Linked DNA regions of Homo sapiens: region 1 is linked to region 2. The links are contacts of gene promoters, found by promoter capture Hi-C in blood cells and fetal thymus (Javierre and others, 2016). All regions are on one chromosome and are shown on one strand. The core of a region is centred on a gene start or on the middle of the fragment in contact, and the rest is flanking DNA. Distances in the headings are between cores, read along the strand shown. Region 1 overlaps GPRC5A (G protein-coupled receptor class C group 5 member A). Region 2 holds the start of DDX47 (DEAD-box helicase 47).

The links. Contacts are between HindIII fragments. The CHiCAGO score rates a contact against its expected background, and 5 or more counts as called.
Region 1: a contact is called between a fragment that was not itself captured here and the fragment with the promoter of DDX47 in region 2, in 1 of 17 cell types (endothelial precursors). The highest score is 6.6, in endothelial precursors.

The regions. Positions count from the first base shown.
Region 1 is chr12:12,893,410-12,899,890 of GRCh38, forward strand. The region is part of intron 1 of GPRC5A (G protein-coupled receptor class C group 5 member A); the gene reads left to right. Among named protein-coding and RNA genes, the nearest start is that of GPRC5A, 5.1 kb to the left of the region's middle. The HindIII fragment of the contact is 611 bases long and covers 2,711-3,321 here.
Region 2 is chr12:12,809,754-12,815,452 of GRCh38, forward strand. It overlaps DDX47 (DEAD-box helicase 47), which reads left to right and starts at 3,593. Exons shown (of 12, transcript NM_016355.4): 1 at 3,593-3,701; 2 at 4,378-4,471. The coding sequence starts at 3,615. RefSeq lists an enhancer at 3,420-3,729. The HindIII fragment of the contact is 15,992 bases long and covers 1-4,400 here.

The sequences.
Region 1 (6,481 bases), core at 1,766-4,265, 83 kb after region 2:
GCTGAGGAATTAATATGGTGGTATAGTAAACAATAAATTGAGGAGTATTTTTGCTTGAGGAATCTTTGACTTCCTGAGTAGTTCAGGGTGTTTGCTTCTTTTATTCTCATTTTTATTGCACTGTGGTCAGACTATATGGTCTGCACATTTCTTATTTTCTAATTCCAGATTTGTCTTTGTATTCTAAATATGCTCATTTTTGGCAAATGTTCCATTTGGACCATGGACCATAGTTCCTATTAAGCAATCATAATAGAGTAGAGATGGCAAACTATGGTCCATGGACCAAATATGGCCTATAGCCTCTTTCTGTAAATAAAGTGATTTTTGTTTTGTTTTGTTTTGTTTTTGTTTTCGTTTTTTTGAGATGGAGTCTCGCTCTTGCCCAGGCTGGAGCGCAGTGACGTGATCTCGGCTCACTGAAACCTCTGCCTCCCGGTTTCAAGGTTTCAAGCCATTCTCCTGCCTCAGGCTCCCAAGTAGCTGGGATTACAGGCGCCCGCTACCACGCCTGGGTAATTTTTGTATTTTTAGTAGAGACAGGGTTTCACCATGTTGGCCAGACTGGTCTCAAACTCCTGACCTCAGGTGATCTGCCTGCCTCGGCCTCCCAAAGTGCTGGGATCATAGGCATGAGCCACAACCTGTAATCCACTATTTTACTAAAACACAGCAATGCTCATATGTTTATGTATCATCTATGCTGCTTTCATGCTACAAATGTGTGGCTTGCAGAGTCTTAAATTGCTTATAACCTGGCCCTTTATAGAAAATCTATGCTGATCACTGATATAGAGGATCTGAATTATATGATTAGTAATGGAGATCTAATAAGATATGAAGATAGAGAATATTTCTATTTAAGTATCCATAGAACATTTACACAATTTTACCATGTTCTTATTCATATTGTATATTTTATCTGCCAAGGACTGGTAAAGAAGTATGAAAGTCTCATGCAACTATAGTATTGCCTTTGGGTTCTCCTTGTATTTTCAGCAGTTATTTATTTATTTTGAGACAGGGTCTTGCTCTGTTGCCCTGGCTGGAGTGCAGTGGCACAATCTTGGCTGACTGTAACCTCCACCTCCCAAGCTCAAGTGATCCTCTTGCCTCAGACTCTTGAGTAGCTGGGTCTACAGGCACCCACCACTACACCTGGCTAATTTTTAAATTTTTTGTAGAGATGGGGTTTTGCCATGTAGCCTAGGCTTGACTCAAACTCCTGGGCTCAAGCAATCTTCCTGCCTTCACTTCCCAAAGTGCTGGGATTATAGGTGTAAGCCTCTGTACCCAGCCTTCAGTACTTTTTGTTTTACGTATTTTGGTGCTATATTAGTTGGTGCATAAAAGTCTAGGATGGTTTTTTTTTTTTTTTTTTTTTTTTGAGACAGAGTCTCGCTCTGTCACCCAGGCTGGGGTGCAGTGGTGCGATCACGGCTCACTGCAAGCTCTGCCTCCCGGGTTCACGCCATTCTCCTGCCTCAGCCTCTTGAGTAGCTGGGACTACAGGTGCCCGCCACCATGCCCGGCTAATTTTTTGTATTTTTAGCAGAGACAGGGTTTCACCGTGTTAGCCAGGATGGTCTTGATCTCCTGACCTCGTGATCTGCCCGCCTCAGCCTCCCAAAGTGCTGGGATTACAGGCGTGAGCCACCGTGCCCGGCCCAGGATGGTTTTATCTTCAGTGTAGAGCATCCCTAATTATTATAAAACAAGCCTTTTGGTCAATATAATATCTTTTTGCTTTGATTACAACTTTGTATGATATTAAAACCTTAACTTCTACTTAATTATTTTACCTTGAACAACTTACTTAACTTTGTGTCTGACACATAATACTTGTTAAATAAATATTATGTTAGTATTTCTTTTTATTTTCATTTCTTTCTGTTCTTTTGCTTTTAACTCTTGTGTATCTTTTTGTTTTAGGTTAGGTTCTTCTAGGTATGATATAGTTTAGTCTTTTTTTTTTTCAAAATAGTTACCATTTACATTTCTTGTAATAATAGTTACTTGTTATTGTCATCTAATTTTAGGCTATATGGTTTGGTTGTCTCCATCTCCTTCTGCATTAGACAGTATATATCATATCATATTTTTAGATCTACTAGCAACTGAGTAGATGGTAGTGCCATTCTCAGGGCTTTGAAAGATAGGCTTGTAAGGAGAGGTGATCAGTTTAGCTTTGAACTTGTTGGATCCAGTGAATATTACCCTTATGTATCAGAATAAGATATTTAAATGAAGGGATCTTTGAGAGCCTTAAGATAGTATACTAGTAGAGGGCCGGCGCGGTGGCTCACACCTGTAATCCCAGCACTTTGGGAGGCTGAGGCGGGCAGATCACGAGGTCAGGAGTTCAAGACCATCCTGACTAACACAGTGAAACTCTGTCTCTACTAAAAATACAAAAAAAAAAAAAAAAAAAAAATTAGCCGGGCGTGGTGGTGGGTGCCTGTAGTCCCAGCTACTCGGGAGGCTGAGGCAGGAGAATGGTGTGAACCCAGGAGGTGGAGCTTGCAGTGAGCCGAGATCACGCCACTGCACTCCAGCCTGGGCAACATAGTGAGACTCTGTCTCACAAAAAAAAAAAAAAAAAAAAAGGATAGTATACTAGTAGAGGACTTCACTTTATTTTCCTATTTTCTGGAAATTTCATTTCTTTGAATTCGGGCATAAGAGATTTAGAAGCTTCACTCAAATATTAAGCTTTATTTAAAAAGATGATTTCCAGTATTTCATTTTATATTCACATTAATCAAGTCTACATGTTTCGTTTAGAGTAACAGGAAGATGGTAATACGCCCAGGGAACTATCTGGAAGTGTAGAAATTGGGATGAACACCGTGGTTATACTTGTTTTGATCTGCCTGTGGTGCTATGATGACTTATTTTCTCTCATTATTGCATAGAAACTCAATTCAGTGATGTTATTCAGATGTTATTCATAAGTTATTGCCATGATTCATCACTTTTATGTCATCAGAGTTGGGATGGCTACCCAGAATAGGGGATCCTGGAGATTTCCCTGTAGACGCTTTGCATTTATAAATAATCCTTTATCAAGGGCAGAGGGATTTCTGTAGGACTTCTCCCTTAGAAGAACTCAGCCTGGGTAGAAATACGAGGATTAACATCAGCACATATTCATCTCCAAAAAATTTTCCTCCCCATTACTCACACTTGCCAATAAATAACTTGCTTTGGGTAAATATTCAGCACTCAGTCTTAGTCCAAAGCATTTGCTCAGCAATCACTGTGTAGAGTACAGAGTAAGGGGGATACCAACAAATAGAAGTTTGCTCTATTTTCTTAAGAAGCTTGTTGTCTGGCCAGGCACGGTGCCTCACGCCACCTTCCTATCTTCCTAGGAGATAGATGCCACAAAGAAGCTTGTTGTCTGATAGGCAGCTCAGCAGTGATATTAATTTGTAATATATAACAAAGATATGGAAAAACTTGAGTGCCAAGAAATATTTAATTGTAAAAACCATGAAGAGATCGACACATTTAGAGTGCAATAGGATTTCAAGTCCAGGTGTGATGGCTTACGCCTGTAATCCTAGCACTGTGAGAGGCTGAGGTAGGTGGATCACTTGAGCCCAGGAGTTCGAGACCAGCTTGGCCAACATAGCAAAACCCTGCGTCTACTAAAAATATAATAATTAGCTGGATGTGGTGGCGCATGCTTGTAATCCAAGCTACTTAGGAGGCTGAGGCACAAGAATCGCTTTAACCTGAGAGGCAGAGGCTGCAGTGAGCTGAGATCATGCCACTGTACTCCCAGGCTGGAGTACAGAGCAAGACCCTGTCTTAAAAAAAAAAAAAAAAAAAAGGCCATAGGATTAATAGTAATAATGATAATAATTTAAAAAACTCATGATAGAGGTTAAATCTTGGGCAAAGTTTTGCAGAAATATGGTAAGTGGATCATAAATAGGAGGGAGAGGATCTTTCTGGTTAGGAGAATAATTCATGTGTTGAGGCAAAGAGCATGAGAAGACCTTAAATGAACCCAAATTCCCTTCCAGATGGAAAATACAGAACTCTAGGAAGATTTGCTTGCCTTGCACGGAGGTGGAGACGGGAGTTAGGGAGGAAGGAGGAGATAGGTGGGAGGACTAATTGGAGAAAGGCCTTGAAGCTCAAACTGGGGCTGGATCTGCCGTGACAGACAAAAAGGAGCGAATACGCTTCTTTTTTTTTTTTTTTTTGAGACCATGTCTCACTCTGTTGCCTAGGCTGGAGTGTAGTGGCGTGATCTCAGCTCATTGCAGCCTCTGCCTCCTGGGTTCAAGCGGTTTTTGTGCCTCAGCCTTCTGAGTAGCTGGGACTACAGGCGTGAGCCACCATGCCTGGTTCATTTTTGTATTTGTAGTAGAGATGGAGTTTCACCATGCTGGCCAGGCTGGTCTCTTAACGCCTGACCTCAGGTGATCTACCCGCCTCGGCCTCCCAAAGTTCTGGGCTCACAGGTGTGAGCCACTGCGCCCGGCCGATAATTTCTTTTTAACCTCCTTTGCGGACTCCTACCTAGATGAGATGGTGCTCCACATGGTTCTGTCCTTGGCTTCCCATGTGATCTTGTCTCCTCTTGAGGCTTCAGATACCACTCTAGGTGATGACTGCCAGTCTGTGCTTACAGCCCAAACCTCTCCTGAGCACCAACCCATATGCCCACGGTGCAGAGACAGCACAACCCAGTGTCAAGGAGCCTGGCTTTTAAGAGTCATGTAATCTTGGGCAAGTTATGTAATTTCTCTGTGCCTCAGTTTCCTCAGCTGTTAAAGGAAGGCATAATAATAGGGTTGTTGTGAGGATTAAATAACACCATATATGGCCAGGAGCAGTGGCTTGTGCCTGTAATCCCAGTACTTTGGGAGGCCGAGGCGGGCAGATCACCTGAGCCTCAGGAGTTGAAGAGCTGCCTGGGCAACATAGCGAGACCCCACCTCTACAAAAAATACAAAAAGTAGCTAGATGTGGTGGTGCGCACCTGTCCCAGCTATTCAGGAGGCTGAGGTAGGAGGATCACCTGAGCCCAGGAAGTCGAAGCTGCCGTGAGCTGTGATTGTGCCATTGCATCACTCCAGCCTGGGCGACAGAGAGACTTTGTCTCAAAAGAAAAAAAAAAAGAAAAAAGAAAGGAAACCATATATGGCTCAGAGGAAACTCTCAAGAGGACTTGGGTCTTTTGACTTGTTATTCCTGGATAGCTCCACGTGCAGGTCGCATATTTATCAAAGAGCCAACAAAGCTACACTTAGCATCTCTCCTTTCAAGCCTGTATTTCTAGGCTCTGACAGTGGTGCCACTCAGTTGCCTAAGCCAGAAATCTGGGAGTTAACCTGGGCTTTTCCATTCCCAAAGCCCTGTCTCTTCTACCTTCATAAAAATCTCCTACCATTTCCTGTTCATCTTTCATGTTTCATCTCCCTGCTTTCTTCCCTAAAGCATTAAACATTAAAAATAATTATTTTAAAACCCCACTAGGTAGAATGGGTCACTGTTTTCCATGTGCCCTCAGCATTCCTAATGTATTCCATAACTTCTTAGTTGTATGTCAGTGTGATTATTATTCATTCCAAGGGCAGTGGCCACAATTTTATATTTATTTATTTAGTTTTTTGTTTTGAGACAGGGTCTCACTCTGTTGCCCAGGCTGGAGTGCAATGGCATGATCATAGTTCACTGCAGCCTCGAGTTCCTGGGCTCAAGCAATCCTCTTGCTTCACCCTCCGAGTAGGGGGATCACAGGTGTGATCCTGGCTAAATTAGCACCCGGCTAATTTTTAATTTCTTTTTGTACAGCGGGGGTCTCACTATGCTGCCCAGGTTGGTCTCAAACTCCTGGGCTCGAGTGGTCCTCCCATCTCTCGGCCTCTCAAAGTACTGGGATTACAGGCGTAAGCTACTGCCCCCGGCCAGGGTTGCTTGTTTTGGAGACTTCTCAGCAAGCCAATGCTTGAATATATGGTGGTTTAAATGGAGAGAGGTTGGGGTCAGGGAGAAAAGCTCTAGAGATGATGACAGTGATTTAGAGGTGAAAAGGAGGATTGAATTATGATTATGACTACTTATAAAGAGCTATTCTTTCTGACCATGTGACACTGGACATGTACCTTCCTCACTCTGTTAGGTTTCTCACCTATAAAATGGGCTGTAGGAATGTTAAATGAGGTAATGGATGTAAAAGCATGTAAATGAGAGAATATGTGTAAAAATACATAACTACTCAGCATAGTGCCTGACTCATAATAGGACTCAGGAGGTGACAGTAGCTGTCATTATTCTTACTCATAATTACATCATGACTGTTATTACTACTGACTGAATGTAGCAATTCGAGAATAGAGAAAAAATGAAAATGCTAGAAAGTCACACATTTTCAGGGCTGGGCTGGCGCGAAGACACATTTTGACAGAATGAGAGAAATCTCATAGGAAGGAAGACAAAGTCAGTTTGTCTTTGCAAGGTT
Region 2 (5,699 bases), core at 2,343-4,842:
ATATGTGTATATATATATATATATACATATATATATAAAATTAAAAAATATATATTTTAGACAGAGTCTCACTCTGTTGCCCAGGCTGGTGTGCAGTGGCACGACCTCGACTCACTGCAACCTCTGCCTCCCAGGTTCAAGCTATTCTCCTACCTCAGCCTCCAAAGTAGCTGGGATTACAGGTGTCCGCAATTATGCCTGGCTAATTTTTGTATTTTTAGTAGAGACAGGATTTCACCATGTTGGCTAGGCTGGTCTTGAACTCCTGACCTCAAATGATCCACCTGCCTTGGCATCCCAAAGTGCTGGGATTATAGGTGTGAGCCACTGTGCCCGGCCAGGAATGTAATCTTAAATATGGAAAAACCTCACTCCCTAAAAAACAAAGAGTGAAGTCCTCTCTGGTCTGCTATGGTTCCTGATCCCAATGCTTTGCTGTTTTACTTCAGCCAGGCAGCATTTCCAGAGCATCCACTTCTTGCCAGGGCCTGTGCTTAGAGCCAGGGGTATGAAGATCATCCCTTGTCTCTTAGATTGTTGGGGACCAGCCTCAACACCACCCGTAGGGTACCCAAAGTCCGGTGGCAACAAAGGAATGAGAAGAGACAGGTTAAGAGTGCATAAAGAGTGGGGGCCGGGGGGCCAATTGCAAAATGGAGGCTGCAAAAGGCCCAGAGTTCTGGTCTTCACTCTATTTATTGAGTACAATCCCTTAGATCTAAGAAGCAGATGTTTAGGGTGAAACAGTGAAAGGGAGGCAGTATGTCATAGGCGTAATCTATAGCAATGGCTGTTTAAATGAGTCTCCTTTGTTCTCAAACAGCATATCTTTAACTTATCGAAGAGTAGCTAGTGGGAGTGGGCTTAACTAGGAGCCTGAACGTCTGTCCACATTTCAATGCTTCAAAGGAGTGTCTTTCTCCTTGAACACAGTGTTTATAGATAAGAGAGCAGGTTGCGCTCAGAGCATGGGAACATAATGGCGATAAGAAGGCTTTCCTCCTCAGAGGCCTTTTGTGACTTGCCACAACTTATTGTCCCATATTTTTATGGCCCGTTTATGCAGGCACCCCACAAGCCCTTTTCCCAACATAGATCAGGGGTCCCCAGCCTCTGGGCCATGGACTGGTGCCAGTCCGTGGCCCGTTAGGAGCTGAGTTGCACAGCAGGAGGTGAGTAGCAGGTGAGCAAGCATTACTACCTGAGCTCCGCCTCCTGGTAAATCAGCTGCGGCATTAGATTCGCTTGGGAGCACAATCCCTATTGCAAGGGATCTAGGTTGCGTGGTTCTTATGAGAATCTAATGCCTGGTGATCTGTCACTGTCTCCCATTACCCCCACATGGAACCATCTAGTTGCAGGAGAACAAGCTCAGGGCTATCACTGATTCCACATTATGGCAAGTTGTACAATTATTTCATTATATATTACAATGTAATAATAATAGAAATAAACTGCACAATAAATGTAATGTGCTTGAATCATCCTGAAACCATCCCCGCCCCAATTCTGTGCAAAAAATGTCTTCCACGAAACCAGTCCTTAGTGCCAAAAAGGTTGGGGACCGCTGTCTTAGATGGTCTCCTTTTCTCACTCTTTCTACAGCCTATCTCCATATAGAGTTAGAGTAATATTTTAAATGTGTAGATCATGTCTCTTCCCTGCTCTAAACCCCCAGTGGCTTCCTTCTGCATTTAGGATAACATCCAAAACCCCAGACCTTTTACAACAGGGTCCTGCAGAGTCTGAGCTGAGCCCAATTCTCTGACCACATCCTACCCTTTTTGTTGTTGAGACACTGCTGTGATGCCTAAATCAGGGCCCTTTTTTAGTTGTGGTGGTGGGGAGGTCGGCAGGCACATTGAGTTGAGTTCCTCACAATTCTCAGGTCAAGCACACTGGCATCACAAGTCTCCTCTCTTGCTTTGTGTATTTATTATCCTTTTTTTTTTTTTTTTGAGACGGAGTCTTGCGCTGTCACTCAGGCTGGAGTGCAATGGCATGATCTCAGCTCACTGCAACCTCCGCCTCCGGGGTTCAAGCAATTCTCCTGCCCCAGCCCCCCGAGTAGCTGGGATTACAGGCACAGGCCACCATGCCTGGCTAATTTTTGTGTTTTTAGTAGAGACTGGATTTCACTATGTTGACCAGGCTGGTCTCGAACTCTTGACTTCAAGTGATCCATCTGCCTTGGCCTCCCAAAGTGCTAAGATACAGGTGTGAGCCACCGCGGCCGGCCTATTGTCTTATACACTTAATTCTTTTATTCCCAATTCCCAGTTTTATTCTAATTCTTCTCCCTCTGCAGGCAACCATTCTAAAATATTTCAAGTGTATCTTCTGTTGGATGTGTTTTAGCAGAATGTGATATCTGTGGGCCTATATTTTAATATACTTGATATATTTTATGCTTTTCTCACTAAGCACTAGGTTTTTCAGATCTAATCATATTGTTAAGGGCATGTTTGTAGACACCATGTTCACATTTTAACTATGCATTTTCCCAGTGACGGACACCAGATTGCCCCCAACTTCCCATCCTCAGGAATAAAACTGCAACGAGCACCCTGCGCAGTGTGAGACCCAAGTGACAGGCCACAGGAGGGCACTCGCTGGCCATGGGGCATGCAACATACAGCTCTGAATTTGCTGCTTTCCAGAATAGCCTTAGTAGCTTCACAGTCTTGGTACTTGGAATTCTCTCACTCTGGAATGATTATCTCCTGGGATCTTAAAGCGTTTTCTCCTGCTCAACAGTGAGGTCTTAACTCAAATATCACTGTCTCAGAGAGGCCTTCCCAATCTCACAGTTATCCCCACAACCCACCCTCCCCAGGTTACTCTGTAATTTTTATGTGAACAGGGTTTCACTCTGTTGCCCAGGCTGGAGTACAGTAGCACCATCTCCACTCACTGCAGCCTCAACTTCCGGGGTCAACTGATCCCTCAACCTCAGCCCCCTGAATAGCTGGGATTACAGGCGCATGCCACCATGCATGCCTGACTGATTTTTGCATTTTGCAGACACAGGGTTTCGCCACGTTGCCCAGGCTGGTCTCGAACTCCTGGGCTCAAGTGATCCGCCCGCCTCGTCCTCCCACAGTGCTGGGGTTACAGGCGTGAGCACACCCAGCTACTTTTCACAATTTGAAATGCTCTGTGATAGCTTATTTATGATCTGTCTTCTTTTTCTTCACGAGGGCAGGGGTCGCTGTCCTATTCACCAGCCATCTAGCATAGCCTTAGCAAATGGTAGGTTCTCAACATTATTGAATAAAGTAATGACATAATAAAAAAATAGTATTGTAATATCAATCCGTTCCAAACTCTATGGTTAGAAAAGCGGGGAACATAACTGGCGACACACGTAGGGAAGGCTCTTTAAAAGGGACCTAAAGGTCAACTGGAGTCCCTGGTGATCAGCCCCTTCTGCACTCGGATCTATTCCGCAAGCCTACGCGCCCATATTCACTGGGCCCCACCTGCCTAGCGGACGGGTGCAATCCCCGGCAAGCCCGCAGGGGGCGCGCAGAGCACGTCGTCCGGGGAGAACTAAAACTACATTTCCCAGCATCCCGCGCGCCGCAGACCCACTTCCGGAGACCTCACACAAGATGGCGGCACCCGAGGAACACGATTCTCCGACCGAAGCGTCCCAGCCGATTGTGGAAGAGGAGGAAACTAAAACATTTAAAGACCTGGTGAGAATGGATGACGCTGGCTTCTTTTATGTACTCTGGTGCTAGGCTCAGGGAGACCCCAGGTACCTTAGATCCCGCTCTGATAGTGTACAAAAGCATCTTGGGGCCTAGCTTGGGTTTTCCCCAGAATTTCAGAGGGCTGGGTTTCGGACGTGCTCTGAGTTTGGGTGGTGGGAGGGCTGCTGGGCCCTGAGACCCCCTATTTGCCCTATTCGCCACTTTAGTGTGGCAACGTTTGTATGTGCATCCAGGAGGTTGTACATATGGGGAATGGAATTGGTCTCTTTATAACTGGAGCTTTGGAGTCAGATGAACCAACCAGATTTGAATTTTGACACAGTCTCTTACTGAGGACAAGTTGTTACCTCTCTGTGTTTCTCTTTCCACATCTGTAAATTGGGGATAGTAATAAGTACTTACCTCGCAGAATTGTTGTGACGATTAAATGAGATGATACATGTAAAGCACCTGGCCTTGGCCTTGGTGAGCAGAAAGTGTTCGTTAAGTCTTGAGCTACTGTCTCATGGTATAGTTAAAGAGTAGGCTCTGAGATGCACAGTAAATACCTTTTAAATCAAATACAATGGTTGTACATGATGGGTCTGACAGTCAGTTAAGTAGGAGGGAGGTAGGGGTGTGCTGTTCTTGGCTAAGGTATATTTTTCTGAATTCCAAGGGTGTGACAGATGTGTTGTGTGAAGCTTGTGACCAGTTGGGATGGACAAAACCCACCAAGATCCAGATTGAAGCTATTCCTTTGGCCTTACAAGGTAGGTTGTATGACTTCGTACAGATTTAATATAAAGTTATCTCAATTAGATACCCCTTTTGAAAGCTGTTGCTTGCATACTTCAAGTGAAATAAGGATATGGTCACTAAAGGTACAAAGTTTGGGTAATGGTATTTGAAAATGTCATTCTCCAATTTTACTGAGCTTACTTTCTGTCTTAATAGCTGAAAGGGTTTGTTCTCTGCCACAGATGCTGACTTTAAGGAAGCCCTAGGTTAAAGTTAAAGTATATTAACGACAATCTTGGTAGACTTTATGCATCAGTGGGCGCACACTTAGGGAAGGATGCCTGGAACACATATGTGTGTCTTGAGGAGTTGAGAATTCTTGCTGTGAGCCATGTTTATCAGATTTGTAAAACAGTGGTTAAAGCAGATTGATGGCTACTGGAACTGAAACTAATGGGATGAACTTTTTTCTTTTTGAGATCTTTTTTTTAAGATGGAGTTTTTTTTGAGATAGAGTTTCGCTCTGTCGCCCAGGCTGGAGTGCAGTGGTGCGGTCTTGGCTCACTGCAACCTCTGCCTTCCAGGTTCAAGCAACTCTCCCGCCTCAGCCTCCCAAGTAATGGATTACAGGCGCATCACCATGTCCGGCTAATTTTGTATTTTTAGTAGAGATGGGGTTTCAGCATGTTGGCCAGGCTGGTCTCGAACTCCTGACCTCAAGTGATCTACCTGCCTTGGCCTCCCAAAGTGCTGGGATTACAGGTGTGAGCCACCACATCTGGCTGTAACAGGATGAACTTTAATAGGAGTAGAAGTAAAGTCCTGCTCTTAGATTCCTAAAGTACCAACTTTACAGGATTAGGGTGGGTGATAAAAGAGGCCCAGAGGTCTTAGTTAACTGAAATCTATTAAGATCCTCAGAGAGAGTGAATGTAATCATAGCAATTGTTATAAGAGGGGTAATGTGGCTAATTATTGTTAGTATTAATGTAGCTATTACTGTATTACTATATTATTAGTGATTAATGTAAGCTATAATTATTACTCATTAGTAATTAATGTAGTGATTATTATTGATAATAATTGAAAGATTTAATGATTTGAAGAGCTGTCATGTGGAAAAGGGGTTAGACTTACTCTACAAAATTCCATTTGCTCTTTCCATAAATAGTTACTATTTGTTGTAAATGTAAGGCACTGGAGGTTAACAGTCTGTCCTCTCCAAGAGTCTATAATCTATTAAAGAGATAATTATAAATT